3 separate regions of the Homo sapiens genome follow, and all the other regions are linked to region 1. Evidence: promoter capture Hi-C in human tissues and cell types (Jung and others, 2019). All regions are on one chromosome and are shown on one strand. Each heading gives the region's core, a stretch centred on a gene start or on the middle of the fragment in contact. The rest is flanking DNA. Distances are from core to core; before and after follow the strand shown. Region 1 holds the start of POU4F1 (POU class 4 homeobox 1). Region 2 overlaps OBI1-AS1 (OBI1 antisense RNA 1). Region 3 has its middle 84 kb from the start of OBI1.

Region 1 (3,508 bases), core at 18-2,517:
GCCGGCCATGAGCGCGAGCGACGGCGAGGAGATGTGGTCCAGCAGATCGCCGGGTTCGAGCGCCTGGTGGTGGTGGTGGTGGTGGTGGTGGTGCGCCAGAGGCACCGTGGAAGTGGACGTGCACGGCACGCTGTTCATCGTGTGGTACGTGGCGTCCGGCTTGAAAGGATGGCTCTTGCCCTGGGACACGGCGATGTCCACGGCCGCCAGCGCCTCGGCCCGCGCCAGCAGCGTCTCGTCCAGGCTGGCGAAGAGGTTGCTCTGCAGCTGCAGGCGACACAAACCAAACCAAAAAAACCACAAAACCAAAAGAGCAAAACAAAACAACAGAAGAAACACACACACAGGCCGGAAAGCACAGCATGCGAAGGGCAAACACAAAGCAACCAAAATAACAACGGGTTTGGGGGCAGTGGAGAGCGGGAAAGACGGAGAGGGGGCACATTGACGACCAGGGAGGGGGCAGACGAGAAGGGATGGGAGCGTGGAGAGGGGGACAGAAGTAGGGAGAAAGGGGGACACAAGAACACATTCCGGAAACGGGCGTGGGAGACGAAAAAGAGGGAAAAGAAGAAATGGAAATGTAACTCGCAGCTGGGGACCCGTGTCACACACCCGAGCACGCACAGAGACTGCCTTTCTGAGGCGTGAAATTAACAGAGAAAGTAGAGGGAAGTCGAGAGTCCTGGCCCCAGCGCTCCCTACTCCGATCGCAGGCGCCTGACGCGGAGGCAGAGGCAGACAGGAACACGACATTAAGGGCCGCCGGACAAAACGTGCCTCGCTGCGGGACTGCTCTACACCCCCTGCCCGCAGTTCCCCGCACCGGGACCTGCACACACCAGCCCCCGACATGCAGCGTTTCGGAGACGGGGAGGGGCGGGCGCGCGGGCCGGGGCCGCGGGCGTGGGGCGCTTACCGGCGGCGTGGGCAGGCAGGCCCGCCGGATGGCCTCGGAGCTGGAGTGCAGCGACGGGTACTTGTGCTCAGGGAGGGTGGGATGCATGGCAAAGTGAGGCTGCTTGCTGTTCATGGACATCATCGTGGCGGCTTGGCATGTATATCCACAAACACTCCGAAAGTCCGCGGGAAAGTGCGTACGCCGGCTCACCCGGCCTCCCTTCGGAGGCTGCAGCCGCGGCGGTCGCGGCGGCTGGCGGCGGCCCCGCCGCGGGCTGCTGCTGCTGCTCCTGCTGCTGCCAGGCGCTCCCTCTGACCGCGCAGAGCGCCGCGCGCCGGCCTCGCGGTCCCGCTTCTCCGACAGCTCTAGCCCCGCGCGCCGACGGGATGCACTCCTCTAACACCTGAGCCCCACTTCTCGCGGCCGTCCCGGGGAGCTCTCGCGAGAGCTCGCGGCCCCACCGCGCTGACAGGCATCAGCTGTCTCCGTCTGTCTGACGCGCGCTCTCCTTCTCGGCGGCCCCGTGCGTCTGCGCGCGCGCGCGCTCGTCCGGCCGCGACCAGCGCGTGGGAGCCGCTCTTATAGTGACCACCAGCAAGGACAGCGCAGGTGATGCACCTGTAGCTACCCGGGCATGCGCACTGCCCGCCTCACCTTTCCCACCGTGGTCTGGAAAGATCAGAAGGTCCAGCTATTGTCTAAGGGTGGGCACCTTTTAGAATAAAAAAGACGAGATGCGCGCACGCCCCTCTATGTGTGTGTGTGTGTGTGTGTGTGCGTGCGTGTGTGTGTATGTGTGTATGTTTCTTCTCCCTGATAGCAAGCCTTGAATATATGAGCATTACTTAGGCATTCCTCCTCTTCGGGATGCCTAACAAGCTGTTGTATAATGTATACAGCTGGACATTTCTACGTTAAATTATGCCCGCGCATTCCTCTGTATACAGTATAAATAACAACACAGAAATGCAGAAGGTGCTGTCTTTTGCTGCAAGAACCTGTTTCTTTAAAGGTTTATAAATAGGTTCCTGGAGAATAATCGCGGTGACAGACATTTGTTTGAAGCAGTCAGACGCTATTGATTTCCATATAATTTAATTTCCTCCGCATACTTTTTTGTTGTTGTTGTGAATATAACTGTGTCAGGCACCGCCAGTGACAGCCACTTAGGAGCCACAAGGAGCGTGTGCTTTCTACTCGGGAAAAGCTGTTGAAATGAAATTGTGCATTTCTCTTATTGTTTGTCTCCTTCAACCGTGTACAAACCCACGTTTCAAACGAGCTCCGGGTGATCTAAGGCTTCTAGTAATCAAAAGGAAAAAACAGTTAACAGGGTGTAGTTGGGATCCTTCCTCCCCTCAGCGTACACACACACACACACACACACACACACACACACACACTTTATGCTGGGAACTCCAGGAAAACTGCTTCAGAGAAAAGGGAATAAGATGTTGAAAAGAGAACTTTCTTTTCCCTTCCATCTTTTTGGCTTTTTGCCTCATATCTCTGCCTGCTTATATATATTTTTTTCAATAGGAGACAGATCAAACTAACTTACAGGAAAGCTTGATTCAAAAATATTAAATCAAGCCAATTTGAAAGAACGGGGACAAGCTCTGGTCCAGTTTTTAAATTTTTAAAAAATTATTGTGAAATTAAGACCTAAAAAGAATAAATCAATTAGCCAACCTGTTATATGGCCCTTATGTGGTAGCAGATCAAGAGCCTCCCAGGGGAGCCACAGTTCAGGTGCCAAAGTCCCCAGGGAAGGAGCACTTGCTCGCGGTGATAATAACCTAACAGCCCAGATGTTATCACATCTGCGGTAAGAGAGCTGGAGAGCAGCAAGGGGCTGCTTATGGAAAGCAGAAATCAGATAATCTTTCTGTTCTCTCCCACACCAAGGAAGTCTGTATTTCCACCAAAGAGCAGATCTCATTTCTATAAACCTAAATTTGCGTTCCCGTGGATTTTATCTTTCCTCTGCACAAATGCATGTGTGTTTAGCATACCCACTCACCTACTCAGATTCCAAGAAGAGCCCACAGGCGTCACCATGGCTTTTTCTTTCTTTCTTTTCATGTTCCCCCCCACCCCCTCCCTTCCTTCTAGCTCCAGAGGGAAGTGAGAAGGATGTTCACTTGCTGGTGAGAGAAGGAGCTGGTTCCATCCATTACGCAGTCCCCTGGGAGCGCTAAATGCAACTTTATCTCAACGGGGAGTGGACGATGAGCAGGACGTCGCTAGAGGGAAAGAGTGAGTCCTACGGTAGTCATCACACCGGGAGTCCGGGCTTAACCTAGTCCTTCCTGACACCCCTGGTGGCCGTTCCCTGCGCTCTCTCTTGACGGGAAAGAAAAGGCCCCCACAGAGGGTGAGGGCCTGGAACCTGCCCCTCCCCTCTCAAGGAAGCGCTGGTCTTTAGGGACCCTGAAGGGTACAGGAGCAACAGAAAGGTAAACAGTACAGGTTTGCGGCCGGGTGGGGCCTCTGAGAGCCAGGTGAGCTCCTGAGTACCCAAAAGGCACCTCGGTTCACCCTCCAACCCTGGGAGGCTTCCATTAAACCCAGCGGAGAGATGCCACCTTAGCCTGAAGTTAGGAG
Region 2 (3,416 bases), core at 801-3,300, 130 kb before region 1:
ACATATATATACATGACTTGCACAATTCTTGAGCCTATGTGCTCTAGAGTTGTAGTAACTCGTATTACCATTCCAATCCTAACTGGCTTCCATAATTCCACCCAATCCATTTCTCACTTGACTATCATATAAATAATGTACAGAGGACTGCAGAAGCCTCATGTCTACCTACGGATACATGGGAATCACTTGGAATACAGGAGCTATTGCTGAGAATTGTTTTCTCACTGCAGCTTATTTCTTTATCTTATGCTTCTGTTTTCCACTCCTAACTATTTATTCCTCTTAGAATTCTTTTTTCGTCCATTAAATATGTATATTATATACCAGAAAGTTATTACTGTGCTTTTCTGTTGCACTTCTCTAGCCATGGATCTGTCTTTTCATCATTAGCATTAGGCACTCTCAGGTTCAAAATATTTGGTGAAAAGAATTTATTGGCTTTTTCTCATCATGACTTATGAGGTGAAATTAAAAGTTCATGTTTATTTCACATATAAGTAACTTTTCCCATGATCCAGTACATGTAGGATTACAGGATGAGAGGCCAGACATAAGTTACTTTTGTTTTGCAATTTTTTTTTCTTTCGAGACAGAGTTTTGCTTTTGTTGTCCAGGCTGGAGTGCAACGGCTCTATCTCGGCTCACCGCAACCTCTGCCACCTGGGTTCAAGTGATTCTCCTGCCTCAGCCTCCCGAGTAGCTGGGATTACAGACATGTGCCACCATGCCCAGCTAATTTTTTTTGTATTTTTAGTAGACAGGGTTTCTCCACGTTGGTCAGGCTGGTCTCGAACTCCCTACCTCAGGTGATCCACCCACCTCGGCCTCCCAAACTGCTGGGATTACAGGCTCCTGGCTCATTTTGCATCTTATCACACATGGCTGAACACCACATACATGCAACAGCCACTTTGTAAGTGGGCACTAGCTAGGAGAGAAAAGAAAGGGGATGAGAAAGGAAAAGAAGAGTGAAAATGGAATGGGAGCAGCCGCCCCTGCATCCGCATATACTGGCAACCTGCCTGTTGGCCAAGCTCAAATTATGTGTTTTCCAAGGGCACTCTGTGCAATGAATCCCCTAGTCTGTCAATTTATTAATGAGATCTTTTAAAAAATAAACTTTTGTATATACTTTTTTTAAGCTACAACATTTTAAAATAGAGACTGTTGACCTAAAAATAATTAACCTGTGGAATTTCTCCCTGGAAAATTATCAAATGCCACTGGATTTTGGAAATGAGTAGCTCAACATCTTATCCCAAATGGACTCTGAAATATGAGATGATACTTTCTGACTGTTTAGATTTGAACATTTTGTCTCAAGTAATTTGTTGACAGTTCTCGTTACTAGTGCTACATAATAAATTATAGTCATTCCTCTATATCCGTGGGTGACTGGTTCCAGGAACCCCTGCAGATACCAAAAATCTGCAGACATTCAAGTCTGCTATATAAAATGGTGCGGTTTTTGCCTATAACCTACACACACCCTCCTGTATACTTGGCATTATCTCTATCTCTATAGCTAATACAATGTAAATGTTGTATAAATAGTTGTTATACTGTAATTTTGTAATTTTTTTTTTGAATGTTTGATCTGCAGTTTATTGAAACCAGGGATGTGGCCCATAGATACAGAGGGAGGGGCAACTGTAACCCAAAACTTAGCAGCAAGCATACACATTATATTGAGCTATTAGGTTCTGTGAGTCAGTAATTCAGGCATGGCTTCCTGGGAATGGCTTGTCTCTGCTCTGTAATGTCAGGGTTCCCAGCTAGAAGACTCAAAGGCTGGGGGTGAATCAATAACTGGGGGCTGAAGTCATCTGGAGGCATCTTCGCCACATGCCTGGTGGTGGATGCTGGCTGCCACCTGGCACCTCAGCCTGTTGGCAGGAGCACCTACAAGTGGCCTCTACCTGTCCCTGGGCTTCCTCATTGCATGGAAGCTTAGGATGATTAGACTTCTACATGGCGGGTCAGGGTTTCGGGAGTTGAGTGTCCTGGCCAACAAAGCAACGCCGCAATGTCTCTTCTAACTCAGCCTCAGAAATCACACGCGTTACTTCCACTGCATTCTCCCATCGATAAGCAACTCACAAGTGGCCCAGGTTCACAGAGGAGAGAATTTGACATTCTTTCCTGAAAGGACTGTGGCAAGGTTCTAGAATAGCATGTAGGATACGAAGTTGCATTGCAGCCCTCTTTGGAAAATTCAATCTGCCACCTCAATTCAAGAAAATCACTGATGAGAAATAATGGGGAAAACATCATTTGACTCACTCATTACTCAGTATATACCAATTCCAGTTGATTGATTCAGTTTTTCACTTGTTAATCAGTTGTTTTGTATTTGGAAGGTCCAATAAAATCTCCCTTTCCCCCTTGTATTCTTTTTCATTTAAAAAAATAGTGTTGAGAAAAGATAAACAATGTATAAGAAAGCAGAAATTCCTAAATGATACTTCAGAATAGCTTAACTAAGAAAATTATTTTGTGAAAATGCAAATTGAAAAATACATTTTAGGATTTTGTGCTTGTGTCATGAAAGGCAAGATTCAGACTTCAGACTCTGTGAGCTGGGAGGTTTTAAAAGATTCTAGAACAATTAGAGAGACTGGAAGTCACTTCTTAAGCCATGGCTAGAAGATTTCTGGCAAGAAGAAATTAATACATTCCTCAAAATATGGATATGTGTGTGAGCATAGCTATAAGACATATGCACTAGAATACTGCACTGGTAAAATGGTAAATAGATTTCCTAAAGTATTAAAATATTATGTGTCCTCTGAGAGGAAGCTTGGCTCTGTGTAATTACTAATCTTTGCTAATTTTTGTAATCCTTTGCATTTCAGATATTATTTGGCAATATAACCCTGAATGTTTAAGCTCTCACGTTTGTTTTTCATAACTATATAACCTTTCCAGTGACACTTTAAGAGGAAATGGAAAGTTGCACCGTACATCTCAAACCCATAACATATTAGTAAATACTTCAGAGCCAAAAGTTAGCTTATACCATATCCTAGTAAAATGTCGCCTTTTAAACCATTCTGCAAGTCCAAGTCCTTTAAAAAAATCTATTATCTTCACAAAGGGATATTTAGCTAGTGGAATTATAACTCCTTGGCTTGGCTCATGAATTGTGCTTGCTAAATGAAGCTTCCTCAGAAATCCATGTGGCCTTTACAGGGCTTTTAACTCCAAAAAGGCAAACCCTGGCTGGGCCCACTAATAGCGAGCACATATTATTTTCACGCACTTCCATTTGCGTGTGCAAATACCCATATTTGCTCATGGAAATTGCCCAGGCAAGCAGCTGATAATTTGGAAAAAGGACAGCCCTATTCAGCATGCACCAATGCATGAAGAAACACACGCTTTCAGTGCATGAAGATTGCCCAATCTGTGGG
Region 3 (3,548 bases), core at 551-3,050, 140 kb after region 1:
ATAAATGTACATTTCTACATTTAAGTTAAAAAAAATCAGCTGCACACATATCAGGATGCTAGTAAGACCTGACTTAAACACCAATCCTACGAAAGTCTTAGGGGTTTCCTCTGACTTTGCACTCCTATGAACATGTAATGAAAAGTGGCTGACAAAAGCTTGTGTAATCTTAGGCATAAGCCAGGACAAGGTAGATAAAGGTCCCACTGCATTTTAGATATGTTAGATCTAGACCGGAGTTAACTGGACAATAAAATGAATCTGTTTTGTTTTTTAATAAAAGAGAACAACAAGTTGAGTTCAGAAGTGGAGGTCTTTCATGTGGTAGAGATTTGTGAATTTTGGTGGCTCAGTATCTACTGTCTCAATTCTCTGTGTCTCTCTCTCTCTTTTCTTCTTCTTTCTCTTGATAACAGCACCATATTTTCTTATGTGTAGGACATGAGACAAGTGTCCCACACCAGATTTTACTGCACACACTCTTTCTCTCTTCTACTGTTGCTTTCCAATCAGTGTCTCCTGGGCCTGGTTTGCTATTCATATAGATTTACTGGGTGGAAAATCCGGAGTGCTCATAAGCTGCTTCACTTGTCAGCCACTAAGAGCCCTCTCAGCCAACAAAAATGCAGGTGGCTGTGTTCTGACCAGGTCTGTTGTTCTTCAACATGAAATCAAAACCCACCCTCACTGCATCTTGGTCGTCCTGATGGAACTTGTAGTGCCCTTGTGCCTCATCTTCCATTCCTGCCCCTTAGCCAAGGTGCAAGTCCATGGTCCAAACTGGCCATACTTTATCTTTTTGGGGATTTTATTTTATTTTTGAACAGAGTGATACATGACAAAAAGTGGTTGGAGCAGAATGATTCTGATATTGGCATCTGCAGGAGACTGTGCACTCCTCACCAAGATTTCTGTACACCTCTACCTTGGTTCCTGTGCCTTTTGAGGCTGAAAGCCCAATCTGAACCCAGGTACTTTTGCATAGATCACTCTTTATGAGCTATCAGCCCATTTATCCAAATGACATTAACACTCATCATGAAGTCTCACAAATATTGGCTTCTACTTTTGCTTCTTCTCATCCTCATCATCCTCTTTCTCTTCCTCTTTCTTCTTTAGAGAAGTGCTAGGTTCCAGACTTGTGTATAGAGGTGAATATAAATATGGAAAGCAATTTCTTCCTAGTAAATTTAATAACATGAAATTGTGTTTCTGAACTGTTTCAGATACAAGAGGTCATGTGTCTGGCCCCAGGTGGGTGATGGATTGATCAAGAAAAGACTAACTCGTGTACTAATTGAGGAAAGAAAGAAACAATTTCCAGGGCTGACATAGAATTCTGCATAAAAAAAATCCCACCCTAATTGAAAAGAAATAACCAAGAAAAAGAGGTAAAATTACAAAAAGAGAAAGGGTAAGAGAGCAATGATGACAATGAGGATGACTAAAAGTGTGTTTTTAGTTTGTCAACCACTGTCACAGATTTCCTTTCTTGCTCCTTGTGAACTCTTTAAGGTCCCTGTTTTCTAGGCTAGCATCCACAGGGCTGGACAATTCGACTTGCTCAAAGCCCTAGAGCCATGAGATTTACATGGCTAAATCACCCACTCACACCTTCCTATCCTCCACCATATTTTCCTGCCAAGCCCTTTCCTTTTCCCACCTTTCAACCTTTCTGACTGTGACTCTCTGTTAAAATAAAACTATTTTAGAAATCTCCCAGCTTCCTCTTTCTTTCCTTCTTTGAACAAGCACTGTGCCTCTCATTTTGTTTAGAACCAATTATAAAACTCATCTTTCACTCATGAGACTTGTGTCCTACACCAGATTATACTGCACACACTCTTTCTCTCTTCTAGTTTTGCTTTCCAATCAGTGTCTCCTGGGCCTGGTTTGCTACCCTTGTAGAATTAGTGGGCGGAAAATCTGGAGTGCTCATAAGCTGCACCACTCGTCAGTCACTAAGAGCCCTCTCAGCCAACCAAAATGCAGGCGGCTGTGTTCTGACCGGGTCTGTGGTTCTCCAACACAAAATCCAAACACCGTGATACTGTGCCCCTGTGACTGAGCTTTTAGGGGCTGAAAGAAAGGAAATGTTTATTAGTAGTAGCTAGAGATGTTTCTGAAGGCAAAAGGCCTAAGCAAAGAGATGGTGTTCTGAGTGGAGTTTGTATTAAGTCCCTGATTCCTGCTGTGAACAGTGAAATGTGGTTGTTTTATAAATTAGCCACATTTGAATTCTAAATCACTACAGGTGCAGCAGAGCCTTTGATATAAGACTAAGCTTATTTTTCAACCAATGAAATAATTGCTCAACATTGGTGTGTTGGTTGATGGGGGAAGGGAAAGTCAGCTTTTTGAAAAACTATACCTGCAACCCAGATAATATTCTAAATACCTGACAGTACAAAATAATGGTATTGATAAGATGAATAAATCTGATCCTGGCTATTTTATGTCAAATTGGTAGAAGACAAATTTTCATGCAAGTATGCAGAAAAGTAATAAACCTGCTTAAGGAACAAATTTAATGGTTTCTAAGACTATATATTTCTAATAATTGTTTATATTTTTAATGTAATACTACTATTCCTAGCAAGAAGCTCGTTTCAAGTTGTGGAGAGATTGGAATAAAACTGAAGAATCAGAATTTTCTAGAAGGCAGTTTCAAGGCAATTCAATATGACTAGATGCATTTCCTATCATGTTTAATTCTTCTTTGTCTCAAAGATTTTTTTTTTGTAATTAACCATGGACAGTCTTCAGTAGCTAGCTCTCCCCTGTCCTCCCTCATGAATGTGGGAGGTGAGAAGGGAGGGGTAGGTTTTAGAGGATTTTTTTTCCCTTTAAATTATTTTTTGGCTTCTTACTAAAGGCATGTCCACAATTCACATTCATACATTTTAGGTCTAATTGAAGATGTTAAAAACATCAAGCCTTAACCTGATGGTATTTTCAAAAATCCCATGACTGTTTAGGAGCAGTCAGCAGAGAGTTGTTAAGAGAAGCTAAATGAGGCATCAGGCAATCAAGATAATCATTTCTGGGTTTTCTTTGGTTCATGAGAAATTAATTTGGATTCACCTAGTTGTACTATCACATCTTCCAATTCAAATCACCTCTCCCGGCCCTACAACTAAAAGTAAAAAAGTAAGCTTTACAAATCAAGCTGGAAGTCTATTGGCAAGCCTTTGTGGAAAACTCCTGCTGCCATTGAATAGGTTCTGCCTCTTCTGGGGATATTTAAAACCCTCTGTGTCCAGGATTGCCAAGTCAGCACTTTCCAGGAGCACTTAGAAATGAGGCATCCCCACCTCTCCATCAACGACAGCCAAAAGCCCAAGCTACTAGTAACAGCATAAGGGGGAGCAAGGGGGAACTTTAGAAAGGGTCTCAGGAAATACTTTCCCAGAGCAAGTCAATACAAATGTGAGGTTGTCTTTCAGAGTGAGCGGTGAAGTCCCTTCTTTGGAATTCTGCCTACTTGCACTCTTAATACTGCTACTGCTCTTTCGCCTCTGCACGTTGATCAAGCACCACTCCTGCTT

Evidence for each region. The method cuts DNA at HindIII sites, captures the fragments that hold promoters and counts their contacts. A contact is called where the count stands out against the background at its distance.
Region 2: a contact is called between a fragment that was not itself captured here and the fragment with the promoter of POU4F1 in region 1, in 2 of the 25 tissues and cell types used here (lymphoblastoid cells and pancreas).
Region 3: a contact is called between a fragment that was not itself captured here and the fragment with the promoter of POU4F1 in region 1, in 1 of the 25 tissues and cell types used here (lymphoblastoid cells).

What each region holds. Positions count from the first base shown.
Region 1 is chr13:78,602,285-78,605,792 of GRCh38, forward strand. POU4F1 (POU class 4 homeobox 1) reads right to left here and starts at 1,268. Exons shown (of 2, transcript NM_006237.4): 1 at 920-1,268; 2 at 1-267. The coding sequence starts at 1,042. It overlaps OBI1-AS1 (OBI1 antisense RNA 1), which reads left to right. Exons shown (of 6, transcript NR_047001.1): 4 at 3,017-3,160. RefSeq lists a silencer at 1,059-1,218. The HindIII fragment of the contact is 11,230 bases long and covers 1-3,508 here.
Region 2 is chr13:78,473,353-78,476,768 of GRCh38, forward strand. All of the region lies in intron 3 of OBI1-AS1 (OBI1 antisense RNA 1), which reads left to right. Among named protein-coding and RNA genes, the nearest start is that of POU4F1, 130 kb to the right of the region's middle. The HindIII fragment of the contact is 3,683 bases long and covers 210-3,416 here.
Region 3 is chr13:78,740,898-78,744,445 of GRCh38, forward strand. No RefSeq gene overlaps it. Among named protein-coding and RNA genes, the nearest start is that of OBI1, 84 kb to the left of the region's middle. The HindIII fragment of the contact is 3,947 bases long and covers 1-3,548 here.